Regions from separate parts of the Homo sapiens genome. Here all the other regions are linked to region 2. The links are contacts of gene promoters, found by promoter capture Hi-C in blood cells and fetal thymus (Javierre and others, 2016). All regions are on one chromosome and are shown on one strand. Each heading gives the region's core, a stretch centred on a gene start or on the middle of the fragment in contact. The rest is flanking DNA. Distances are from core to core; before and after follow the strand shown. Region 1 overlaps MAST4 (microtubule associated serine/threonine kinase family member 4). Region 2 holds the start of MAST4 (microtubule associated serine/threonine kinase family member 4). Region 3 overlaps LINC02229 (long intergenic non-protein coding RNA 2229).

Region 1 (3,767 bases), core at 53-2,552, 120 kb before region 2:
GCATGATACAAAAGAGGAAGAAGATTCAAGGAGGATAACGAAGCTTTACAGGAACTTGGCTTTACCGGAACAGAGCACATCCAGACAAACTTGGGGAGATGAGGCATTAGTAAAAAACTCAGTGATATTTCTCAAAACAGCTCAGTTCTCTTATTTTCAAACAGAAAAAACAACACTGTAATAGATATCTTTCAGGCTGTCCACAAAACCCTCAGGCCCTTTCTCTGAAAAGGCTATATACCACATGACCTTGCCAGAGCCAGGGGCCCTGAGACAGATACCACCACACACGGGGCCAAGCACACTCACTCTCATATCAGCCTCTCCTGGGCACCTGAACTGGCCCAGGCACTCATGGGGTCCTCAGGTTCAGGAGGCACCAAAAGAGACTTCACCATACAAAAATGCCAGCATGTAGAAGAAGCCGTGTGTCTAAGGAGCAAGATGACATCATAACTTAATCATTTATACCGAAAGACAAGCTGTAAAAGGTGCTTTGAAAACAAAAAAACAAAAAAACAAACAAAAAAAACCTTCAAATAGAGTCCCTCTCATTTGCTTATGCTTTTTCTCAGCAAAGCAAAAAAAAAAGAAAAAAAAAAGAAAAAAAAACCCACTGGTTTTAAATATATATAGTCTGTCTCTGTGCATCTCATCCCATAGACTCTGAAAAGAGCCTTTGAAAGAGACATTTTTTTTTTAAAGCACACAGGATGTAAGCCACTGTGCAATGGCCAAGAGCAACAAAATACTGTCACAGCTGAAACGCAGTCCCTCATGTCCCAGTGAGAACTCAGGGATGGAGGAAGGCTAACAGCTGTGGGGAGGTGGTAGGAACCAGGCTTAGACCCAGCGGTCCCACGGCCTCCTTCCTTCCCTCAGGCAGTGAGCAGGGCTATGCCTAACTGGGAATGACTGAGACAATGAATACCTGGGACTAGCCAAATGATACCAGGAAGAGATAATCATCTGGAAACGTTTTATAAATATAAACATAAGGGAGATTAGCTGCAGCCTCCACCACACAAATCTGAGGCCAAGGGGTGGGGGAACAACACCTTAGACTTCAATGCTAGAAAGAATTTATTTTCCTAACATGGAGATCTATTAAATGCCTAGCAACCTCCCCAGGGAAACAGTAGCAAAGCCACTTCAAGTGGAGTGAGAAACTCATTTCTGAAAGCCTTTTTCCAACTTGGGAAATTTAACTCTATGCCTTTGTAACCCCAAGGGACTGCCTGGCTGAGACTGCACTAGGTGTAACCATATGTCAAAATTAATACATTGGATATGGTACTCACCCACAATTTGCTAGAAAACAGTCAAAACTAAAAGTGCCAAAGGAGGCCTTTCTTTATGAATATAGGCATAGCTACTAATTTATAATAGTAAAAATATCCACTTTGACCTTTGCCTACATAAGAAAATTAGAGAAGAAATGTTTTAAAAACCATAGAAATAGGCATCTCCCTGCCTCCTTAACCCCTAATTCAAGAATGATGGCTCTCTTTCTATCTTAATAGCAGCATTTTTGCCAGGAATGAATCCCTCCTCTCCACCTCCAAGCCACAGAGTATAGGGTAGCCTCCTCCCTCACCTGGCTGGATAGTCCTGGGCCCATCCTGGGTCTCCATCCTCCAGGGCTCTGCTTAGCCTGAAGTCCAGGCTCCTCTAGGAAACGCTCCTCTTCAGGGTCCAGTGTGCCATGGAAAGCCTCGCTTCCCTCCCGCTTAATACTCATCGCCTGGGATCAGAAGCGCTGGTCTCCCCCTACAGAATGAGCTCCTTGAGGGAGAACTTTGTCCTCTTCACCTGTGAGACCCATGCATAATGCACTAGGAGACATGTGTTTGTTGAATGGATATTGCTTGGCTTATTGGGAATTCAGTCAAAACAGAAGGGAAAGATATAAATGATAAAGGTGACATCAGTTCTGGTCATGGTACTCTACTACAATGGTTAATGTAGTCAAGGTGATAGCCAAAAAACACAACAAACAAGGGATGTATGCTTCTATCATGAGCCCTACCTGTCCAGGTCAGATGCCCTGGAGAAATGGTCTACAAAGAATTTTAAAATCCATATATCTTCTAACACAATTTAAAGACAAAATCTAGGCTGGGCACAATGGCTCATGCCTATAATCCCAGCACTTTGGGAGGCCAAGGTGGAAGGACTGCTTGAGGCCAGGAGTTCAAGACCAGCCTGGGTAATATAGGGAGACCCTGTCTCTACAGAAAAAAAAAAAAAAATTTTTTTTTTAATTAGCTGGGCACGGTGATGTACACCTGTAGTCCCAGCTACTCGGGAGGCTGACATAGGAGGATTGCTTGAGCTCATGAGTTCAAAGTAAGTGTGATTGCATCATTGCACTCCAGGCTGGGCAACCGAGTAAGACCCCCTCTCTAAATACACACATACATACACACATACACACACATAGAGAGAGAGATCAAATCTAAAATTGTTCATCCTAGGTTTAAATAGTGGCATGGTATATAATTTCTTGCATACTGTAAATAATGAAATTTTAAAATGAAACTGCTTTTATTCAAGCTTTTAAATGTATCCATTGTTATTTAAAATACATGAACAACCTTCCCTTTTACGCTCAAATTTTTATAGTTCCTTTTTTTCCCTTAAATTTATATTTCCATTCCATTTCTCTCACAGAATTTTATCCTAATAAAACACTTTTATGTTTTAGGGTTTTTTATTGATCATACTATCATACTCCTTCTGCAACAAAAATAGTTATGAAAATTAAAATGTATTTTTTATTTCCTGTGACCAAATGGTTCTAAATGTTAAAAATTTAATCTAGATTATCATTAAAACTATTAGTAGAATGCAATTTGAGAGAACAAATGTATAATTTTATAATGATTAAAAGTTAAAGCATTAAAGTAAATTTTTATTGGAAATGCATTCCTCAATGAGATGGATAGGATAATTTGATATCTGTATCCATAAATGAGTATTTTTATTGTCAGAATAAGCAATATTTCAACAGTAATTCCACTCCATTTTTTTTTTTTTTTTTTCCTGTCATGGCCTGAACCAGTCTTTCAGGTTAAATTTTTTTTTTAATTTTTATTTTATTATTATTATACTTTAAGTTTTAGGGTACATGTGCACAATGTGCAGGTTTATTATATATGTATACATGTGCCATGTTGGTGTGCTGCACCCATTAACTCGTCATTTAGCATTAGGTATATCTCCTAATGCTATACCTCCCCCCTCCCCCCACCCCACAACAGTCCCCGGTCCACTCCATTTTTTGGTATTAAAGTAAAAGCCTTGTTCATGTAAATAAGTTGATGGGAATGAAAGAAGTGTTGTGATAGCTGTGGCCCTTAATTCTTTAAATTCCTGAGATTTATGCCAAAAAAATCATCAACACATTACATGATAATCATCATTTTTTGACAAACTGTTCAGGGTCATGTTCAGTTTTGTTTAAAAAAATTAGAAGACATTTGATTTGCAAAAGGACTAATTTCTAAGACATTAGATTCATGCCCTCTATACAACAATCTTCTCATTTTCCCTTTTTCTGGCACCCTGAGGAGTGGGGATTACTTCCTGTGACTACATGACATGATGAGATTTGGGAGAGGTAAAGCCAGGCAACCCATTAGTCCAGTTGTGCTCCAGGTGGATCTGTTTTGGGAAAGAGTATATAGGGAAGCTGAACATCTGAAGTAATTTCCTTGTTACTCTCCATGGGCCCAGTGCCTCTTGGAAAGTCATCATGGACCCCA
Region 2 (3,850 bases), core at 125-2,624:
CAAGTTCTGGAGGAACATCCTTCCAGGAAACTGGGCAGATACAGATCCCCCACCCCGCTCCGCCCCGCAAAAGGTAAGACGATCTGTACTCGGTTTGGTGACAAGCGTTCATCTGGACAAGCTGGAAACAAGTCTGAACGGGAGCTGCAGGCGCGCACGCCAGCGCCACCGAGGGAGCGCGGGGAGTCCTCTTCTCCCAGAGGACCGACGCTGCGGGGACGCGCCAAAACCACCCGCGGGCGATCCCAGGGGGCTGGCGCCACTGAAACCTCCGCAGGCAACTCCGCGGCTACCGCTGCCCCCCACCCTACTCCTGCCTCTTACCCCCAAGGCACCATTTCTCCCCCTCAACTCCCTGCCCCTCGGCCCAAGCGCTTCGGTGGGAAACAACGCCCACTTTGGAGAATCAGAGGTGAGTTGTGGGGACACGCCAGATGTCCAGATCGCATCCTTTCACAGATCAACCAAGTCAGATACAAACACGAAGGAGTTTGCTTCTCTGACATTTTAAAAACACACCATCAGGCAGCACACTGAGACACACACACGGGGGTAACAGCCACAGGGAAGTCAATAACCCACAGGGGGGCTCCTAACTATCGTTGTCCCGTGCTCGGGGCAGAGCGCTTGGGGTCCCTCCCTATCTCCAGGCCACAGCGCTCTCCTGCCCACTGCCTGTGCGCAGGATGGGAAACTACGGTCGCCCGGCTGCCGGAACCCAGAGTGGGCAAGCTGGGGAAAGGCCCACCTCCTCGTCCTGCTCCTCCTGGGACGCGCTGCTGCCCCGGGGCGCGGGCGGCACAGCTCCTCCGGGAAGCGGCGGCGGCAGCGCAAGGACTCCGCGCTCCAGCAGCACGCTTGCCGGAGCCCACGCGGCGGGCGCCCGGGCGCCCAGGGTGCCTCCCAACGGCGGCGGCGGCGGCGGCTGATGCTCTCTGGAGAAGCCGCCGGGCTCCCCTTCCTCCGACAGAGTTTCTGAGCCCGAGGAGGACTCGGCCGAGGAAGCACCCGGAGAGGACGCGGCGACCAGCGCAGAGGCTGGAGTCCGGCTGCCGTGGCCACTGCAGCCGCGGGGCACCGGCTCTGGCGCCTCCGAAACTTTCTCCCCCATTTCCCTGTCTGGCCCAAAGTGCCTCCCGAGCGGCGGGGGCGCGGCGCGCACTCAGCGCCTCCCGGGGAAGACGCGGGCTCCTGGGCTCAGGCTCACTGGCACTGCCGCTCCCGGGCTGCAGGGAGCCCCGCCAGCGACTACATGGCAGTGACGGGGCCGCAGGAGCCCGCTGCTAAGTTCACAGCCGCCCGGGCCCGGCCGCAAACGGAGGCTCCCGCGCGCGGGGACATGCCCGCTCGGGTCCGCGATCTGCGCTCCACTGTGCTCCCGCGCTGCACCCGAGCCGCGGGTACTGCGGCTTCTCCTTGCAAAACCTGCCTCCGGGACGGAGCAAGGAGACGGGCAGCCCGCAGAGCCAATGGCAGGGCAGGCGCGCTGGTGGGCGGAGGCTGCGACGCCTCCGGCCATGAGGGCCTCAGGTAGGGGAGGCGGGGCCCGGGCGCGGGCCGTGGTCCCGCTGGAGCGCCTGGGCGCAGGGGACAGGGACCAGGCGGGGGTCCCCGGAGGGTGGGGGCGGAGCCCAGAATCGGAGCCAAGGGCTGAGACTCCGAACTTAGCGGGGGAGTGGCTGACCGTCCTTGGGACGTCAGAGGGAGACGGCGAGCGGATGGTGAGACCTTGGAGAAGAACTGGACTTTGTCTCCAAAAAGTGGAATCAAGAAAACGGACAAGAAGGAGGGCTCTATAGGGAAAAAAGGAACCACACACACACAGTCACCCACGCACACGGACTCACCAGCGTGTTGGAGGAAAAGGACAGAAACTTCGTGGTATAGTGAGCGGACCCAAAGGGGAGTGACCTCTAATCTCTGCTTTTCCGTTTAAGCTCTTTGGGCCTCAGTTTCCTCAACTGTAAATGGCTACATTACTACTGGTCTTGGCAGGCTTAGAGCAAATATATATAATGCATCAGCAAAGTGCCTGGCTTGGATACACGGAGCGTTTTTAAAAGACTATTTCCTGTCTTTATTTCTGTTTGTAAACTAAAAAGTTAAGTCTGAGACTTGAACCTTTTGATAGGGAGGAAGATAAAAAAGTATGTCCTTGTATTTAATTAGGACCAAGCTCTGTAGTCCTACTCAAATTGTCTGTCTCGGTATGATCAGCTAAGCAGAGGATGAAAAGGATTCACTTTCCAATGTACATTCTCCTAGCCCTGGGTTGTAAACCAACAGGATACAGGACAGGTTGCTTCATTTTCCTTACCTCTAAGAACTAGGAGAAAGAACTTTCACTAAAGGTACCAATAGAGTACCCTTAAGTCCTTCCCTGGGGCTGGAGGATGCTGCCTGTCCGGTGACTGGAATTTCCTTGGAAGCCAGCACTCAGCTCAGCAGTGGGAAATAAATGATTCCTCTCTTGCCTTCAGCTCTAGTCCCATTCTGAGCTCTGGCACAGTGACCTGGGATGTAAATTCAACCGCCTCAGTTCCATGTACGTTGATGGAGATGTGTGCCAGGTGCAGGGGATACAAAGATTAATAAGTCAGGTCCCCTGCCCTTGAGCAGCTTATGGTCAAGCGAGAGATTGATACTGCATAATATAGCTCCCTTATCCATTTTAGAAGCTGTGATAAGTGATACAGGAAAAATGTGTGAGGGAGAAGAGGAAAGAGTTACAGAAAAACAGTAGCAGGTCCTTGAGCATCTTAGATTTCTCTTTGTCAGAGCAGCCTTGCCAAAGGTCCTTAAAAACTGGAGGACCCTAATTGAAAGCCCCTTCAGCTAATGAGCCTTTCATGCTATCATGGTATTTACAAGTGATACATCACACAGAGGGCTTCATCATATTGGACAGCAACCTTTGTCCTGATCAGTTTCCTCCCCTCAAGATGAAGGGGAAGGAAATACGTTTTGTCTATCTTGCTTCAGACAGCCATACTGCAAAATGGACTCCGGTTGTCAGGCTTTCATTGTGACGCTTCTGAATTATTCACAGGGATATGAAGACCTGCTGAGGCAAAAGGTCAAGTCTAGTGGCAGCTAAGTTGTGAGAGCAAGGCTAAAGAGAGAGCACAGTGGGGCAGTCCGAATTTAACCCGGGCCTCACAATTACTTTCCTATTTAGGAGTTCTGGTCTTTATCTGAGCCCCTACGTGGTTGATTCACCAGAGCTGAACTGAAATGACAATTTCAGCCATGCACATAAAAGAAGAGGAGGAGTTGCTTTTCAGTACATAGGGAAATAAGAAGCAAGGTCATGGTCTGAATAACCGACAGCAAGAATGACAATAGTTATTATCGCCTGAGTCCTCTGCATCTTCTCTGGATGGTCTCATTTAATCCTGGCAACAACCTTGTGAAACAGATTCTATTAGTCCCACTTTATTGATTAAGAAACTGAGGATCTGCAAAGGTCACACAGCAAGTAAGCAGTGGAGCTGTGGTTTGGAACCCAGCAACCTGATTCCAAGGCTGTCTTTCCTAGGCATTCTAGTATTAATACAATGCCACTCAAAACAGACAGCTTTTTCAAATATATATATATACCATATTATAAATATCCATAGGGAAGAAACTTTGCTGTATTGATTCAATCTGTAAAAGAAAATACTTGAGGAACATATTTGTTTTTCCCACAAACATTTTTAAGGTACTTACTATGTGCCAGGCAGGATTTTAAGCACTTTAAAATGTTAATATACTCAATTCTCATACCAGCCCAATGAGGTAGCTACTATTACTATTCTCATATCATATTTGTGAAATATGTGAAAACTATGACAGAGAAGTTAAGTAA
Region 3 (4,082 bases), core at 365-2,864, 88 kb after region 2:
CTTAAAAGGCCAGATTTTTGTTTTCCTGGCCCCCTTGCAGCTAGGATATGTACACATGATCTAGGTTTGGCCAATCAGATGCACCCATCTGAGAGTCTGAATTAGGAGCAAGTTGCTCAAAGAAGCAAGGTCAGTGGAGAATTCATTCTGGAGGTGGCAACAACACCCATTTCCCAAGGAGTAACACTGGCAGAACAAACTGCAGTGTCCAGTGTTTGGGGCAGTAGGGACCTCCTTGGACAAATGCTGTGGCTTAGCTCTGCCTCCCTTTCTTCCAGCCTATTTTCTATGTCTTGTTCTCCAGTTTTTCGAACAACTCTGGGAGCTACACAGTATCTCTTTGATAATTTACTTTAGTGCTTCAGTTAGCCTCTGTGTCTTGTAGCTTAGGTCCCTGGCCAGCTCAGATACTCTAAAACCTGGAGGAGGGACTGGGGATTCATCAGAGGAAAGATGAAGCTTACAGGCATAGGGGAATGAGATTGTCCAGGGAGAGAGAGTGGAGGTCAGAAAAGAAATGGGCTGCAGCCAGGAGCCTGAGGCACAGCCACAGTGAAAGCATAAGCAGAGCAGAACACCAACACAGTACCTCTGAGGAAAATCACTTAAAGGCTTTTCTTCCTTTTCCAGATCAAGAGTGAAATCATCCAGAATAGAGTGAATTCGGGCTTCAGAGCGGCTGTTTAGGATTCAGAGCTCTACCAACATGAGCAATCTGTTGGCATGACAGGTCAGAGAAGCCGTGAAGGACATGGAAGGAAGTAGATGGAACTGGAAACAGGAGGCCAACCCCAGCAGTCAGGCAAGTACCATCCAGAGAACAGGAAATGTAAAAGGATCAGGTATAGCTGGAACACCTAGGCAGAGGGACTTCGGAAGTTCAAAGTTAGGGAGAATAGCACTGGCAAGAAGGCTGCACCAAGATATGTGCTGCTCCCAGGGCAGAGGCTCTTTACTAGCCTGTCCTTTCACACTGTTCACCACCTGCCTGGGAGTGTCTAGGCCAGGACTTACAGGTTTAAGAATAAGAACTCCATGGGGCATGGAATTTATAATTGAAGCAGGGCAGAATCGTTAGGCCTCCAATTGAAGCAGGGCAGACTCCCTAGGTCTCCTAGGAAGTTCTTGTTCCAGGCAACACAGATGACTGGGTAGTTTAAGTTATAAAAATATTTTATCCAAATTAGAACCAAACAATACATAATTTATTTATGGTTGTGAATTCATCCTTGCTGTGAATAGCTGCTACAGGTAGGGTGCTATTGGTCAGCATCTCATAGTTCCCTGAGACCTGCTGCAGGCACTACCTCTCACATCTAATTGGTACTCTGTCATACTCACTGCCCTGAGCTTTAATTGTCCAAGTCTTTTCAATTAGGCTGAAGCATCTCATAGCATTGAATACCTCTTTTATCCTTCCCCAAATTGGCCAGCAAAGCACAAGCATATATAAGTATTCAGTAAGTATTTGACCTAGATGGCTTATATATAAAAAAAACCAACACTAAGCTTTTATGGCTAAAATTTAAAACTAATCCCTATCATAGGTCATGGTATATTTCTCTTACCATTGCTTTTTCTTTCTTGTTCTAGTGGTGCTCAGAAAAAAATAAGACACTGAAATTTGAGGACTTAATGGAGTTTGGTGCCTTCAGTTAGCTGATGTCTATGAAGCCTGACCAGTCTACTTCTAGTCTATAAGATCATGTGGAAGCTTCAGTGACAAACTTCTACTTTACTAATGATTTTATGATCCTGTTACCCATTGCAATTGCTTAAATGGTATTTTAATTAGCTGCTTTAAATGACTTTGCTTTTTTACAAAAAGCAGTGTGTGCTTTAGTTTAAAATATGGGTCACTGGTGTTTCTTTCTAGAAGATGACTGTGTTTAGTACCAGGGAAAATTGGTGATGTATTTGGAGAGGTTTTAACTTCTGTAACTCAGGTTGATATCTGGAATGTGAGTGTTTCCATACTTCCGTGGATGCAGCAAATTTATATAAAGCGTTATTAAATTTGTTCTAGTTTTTAAATACTGTTAATTCTTTCATGGGCTTTCTATATTGCCAGTTTTTTTTTATGGTATCTGCAACAAGTCAATAAGCTGTGTTTATGTTTGTATACTGTTTTAGAAAGGAGGATTGACCCAGAACATTATGTGCTAGGAGAAATAAAAAGACTCTGCTATGGATACAGATTTGCTTTCCCTGTACGTAATGCTTCTGCCAAAACTACCATCTGTGAACTTACAGAATGCCTTATCCACCATGATGGTATTCCACACAGCATTGCTTCTGATCCAGGAAATTACTTCACAGCAAATCAAGTGTGGCAATGGGCCCATGCTCAGGGAATTCACTGGTCTTACCATGTCCCCCAACATTCTTAAGAAGCTGGCTTGATGGAACACTGGTATGGCCTTTTGAAGACTCTGTTACAGGTAGGCCTTATAGTTTCGTGCCATCTAGGTGGCAATATCTTGCAGGGCTGGGGCAAGGTTCTCTGTAAGGCTGTATACACTTTAAATCAGTATCAAATATATAGTACTACTGGATGTATAGTACCCACAGCCAAGATTCGTGGGTCCAGGAATCAAGGGATGGTAATGGAGTGGCATAATTATTACTCCTACTGACTCACTAGCAAAATGTTTTCTGTCCCTGTGACCTTATGCTCTGCTAGCTACGAGGTTTTAGTTCAACCAGGATCACAGTAATGATTCTGACATGCAGCCATTTTGGGATCCTTATGCCTCTAAATCAACAGACAATGAAGGGTGTTGCTATACCAGCTAGGGTGGTTGACTCTGACTACCAGGGAGAAATAAGACTGCTATCCCACAATGAAGGTAATGAAGACTACATCGGGAATACAGGAGTTCCCTTAAGGCATCTCTTGTTATTACAGTGTCCTGTGATTAAAGTCAATGGAAAACTACAATAATCCAATCTGGGCTGGGCTACGATTGGCCCAGACTCTTCAGGAATGATAGATTTGCATGTCATCCTCACCCCCGTTTTCAGGTAAAGAACTATAAATAACTATAACAAGCTAAGGTGCTTGATGAGAACAAAGGGAACATGGAATAGGTAGTGGAAGAAGGCAGTTATAAATACCAGCTACAGCCACATGACCCGTTACAGAAATAAGGACTGTCATTCACATGAGCATTTCCTCCTTATTTTGTTATATGTGTATGTGTGTATCAAACATCTTTGTTTTCTTCCTACTCTTATCCCTTTATCACCTAACATACGATATATGTCATAGTATTTAGCTTGTCTTTATCAAAGTATTTAAGTTCTGAGATATCAAGGAGAAGAGTAGGCAACACCCAGGGACTTTGAATCCTCTTCTGGAGAAAGTAATTGTACATTTTCACTTATATGTAAGATAGTTGTATTTCACGCCTGTAATCCCAGCACTTTGGGAGGCCGAGGCAGGAGGATTACCTGAGGTCAGGAGTTCAAGACCAGCCTGGCCAACATGGTGAAACTCCACCTCTACTAAAAATACCAAAAAAATTAGCCAGGCATGGTGGTGGGTGCCTGTAATCCCAGCTACTTGGGAGGCTGAGGCAGGAGAAGCACTTCAACCGGGTGGTGGAGGTTGCAGTGAGCTAAGATCACGCCAGTGCACTCCAGCCTGGGCAACAGAATGAGACTCCATCTCAAAAAACAAACAAAAAAAGAGATAGTTGTATCATGTTGGGTGGAAATGTGACCCTGCTATTATCTTTATTTTTATGATTAAGTATGGTTTAAGAAGATGCATACGGGTGCCAAGTTGACAAGGGACAGACTTCTGATGCTTAATTTTAATGTGTCAACTTGACTGTGCCTTGGTGTCTAGATATGTGATCAAACATTATTCTGGATGTTTGGGCAAGAGCGTTTTGGGGTGAGATTAACATTTAATTTGATAACTTTGAGTAAAGCAGATTGCCCTGCCTTATGTGGATGGGCCTCATCCCGTCAGTTCTAGACCTGAATAGAACAAAAGCCCGACCTCCCTGAGGAAAGAGACTTCTGAAACAGATGGCCTTCAAACTTGAACTGCAACATCAGCTCTTTCCTGGGTC

Evidence for each region. The method cuts DNA at HindIII sites, captures the fragments that hold promoters and counts their contacts. A CHiCAGO score of 5 or more calls a contact.
Region 1: a fragment that was not itself captured here is called in contact with the fragment with the promoter of MAST4 in region 2 in 2 of 17 cell types (megakaryocytes and M1 macrophages); the score reaches 6.1 in megakaryocytes.
Region 3: a fragment that was not itself captured here is called in contact with the fragment with the promoter of MAST4 in region 2 in 1 of 17 cell types (total B cells); the score reaches 6.5 in total B cells.

What each region holds. Positions count from the first base shown.
Region 1 is chr5:66,715,010-66,718,776 of GRCh38, reverse strand. All of the region lies in intron 1 of MAST4 (microtubule associated serine/threonine kinase family member 4), which reads right to left. Among named protein-coding and RNA genes, the nearest start is that of MAST4, 120 kb to the right of the region's middle. The HindIII fragment of the contact is 2,513 bases long and covers 46-2,558 here.
Region 2 is chr5:66,593,917-66,597,766 of GRCh38, reverse strand. It overlaps MAST4 (microtubule associated serine/threonine kinase family member 4), which reads right to left and starts at 1,374. Exons shown (of 29, transcript NM_001164664.2): 1 at 749-1,374. The coding sequence starts at 1,111. RefSeq lists silencers at 629-778, 789-928, 1,539-1,738. The HindIII fragment of the contact is 7,618 bases long and covers 1-3,850 here.
Region 3 is chr5:66,505,496-66,509,577 of GRCh38, reverse strand. It overlaps LINC02229 (long intergenic non-protein coding RNA 2229), which reads left to right. Exons shown (of 3, transcript NR_105001.1): 2 at 631-802; 3 at 1,594-2,034. All of the region lies in intron 1 of LOC105379002 (a long non-coding RNA gene), which reads right to left. Among named protein-coding and RNA genes, the nearest start is that of LINC02229, 4.1 kb to the left of the region's middle. The HindIII fragment of the contact is 205 bases long and covers 1,512-1,716 here.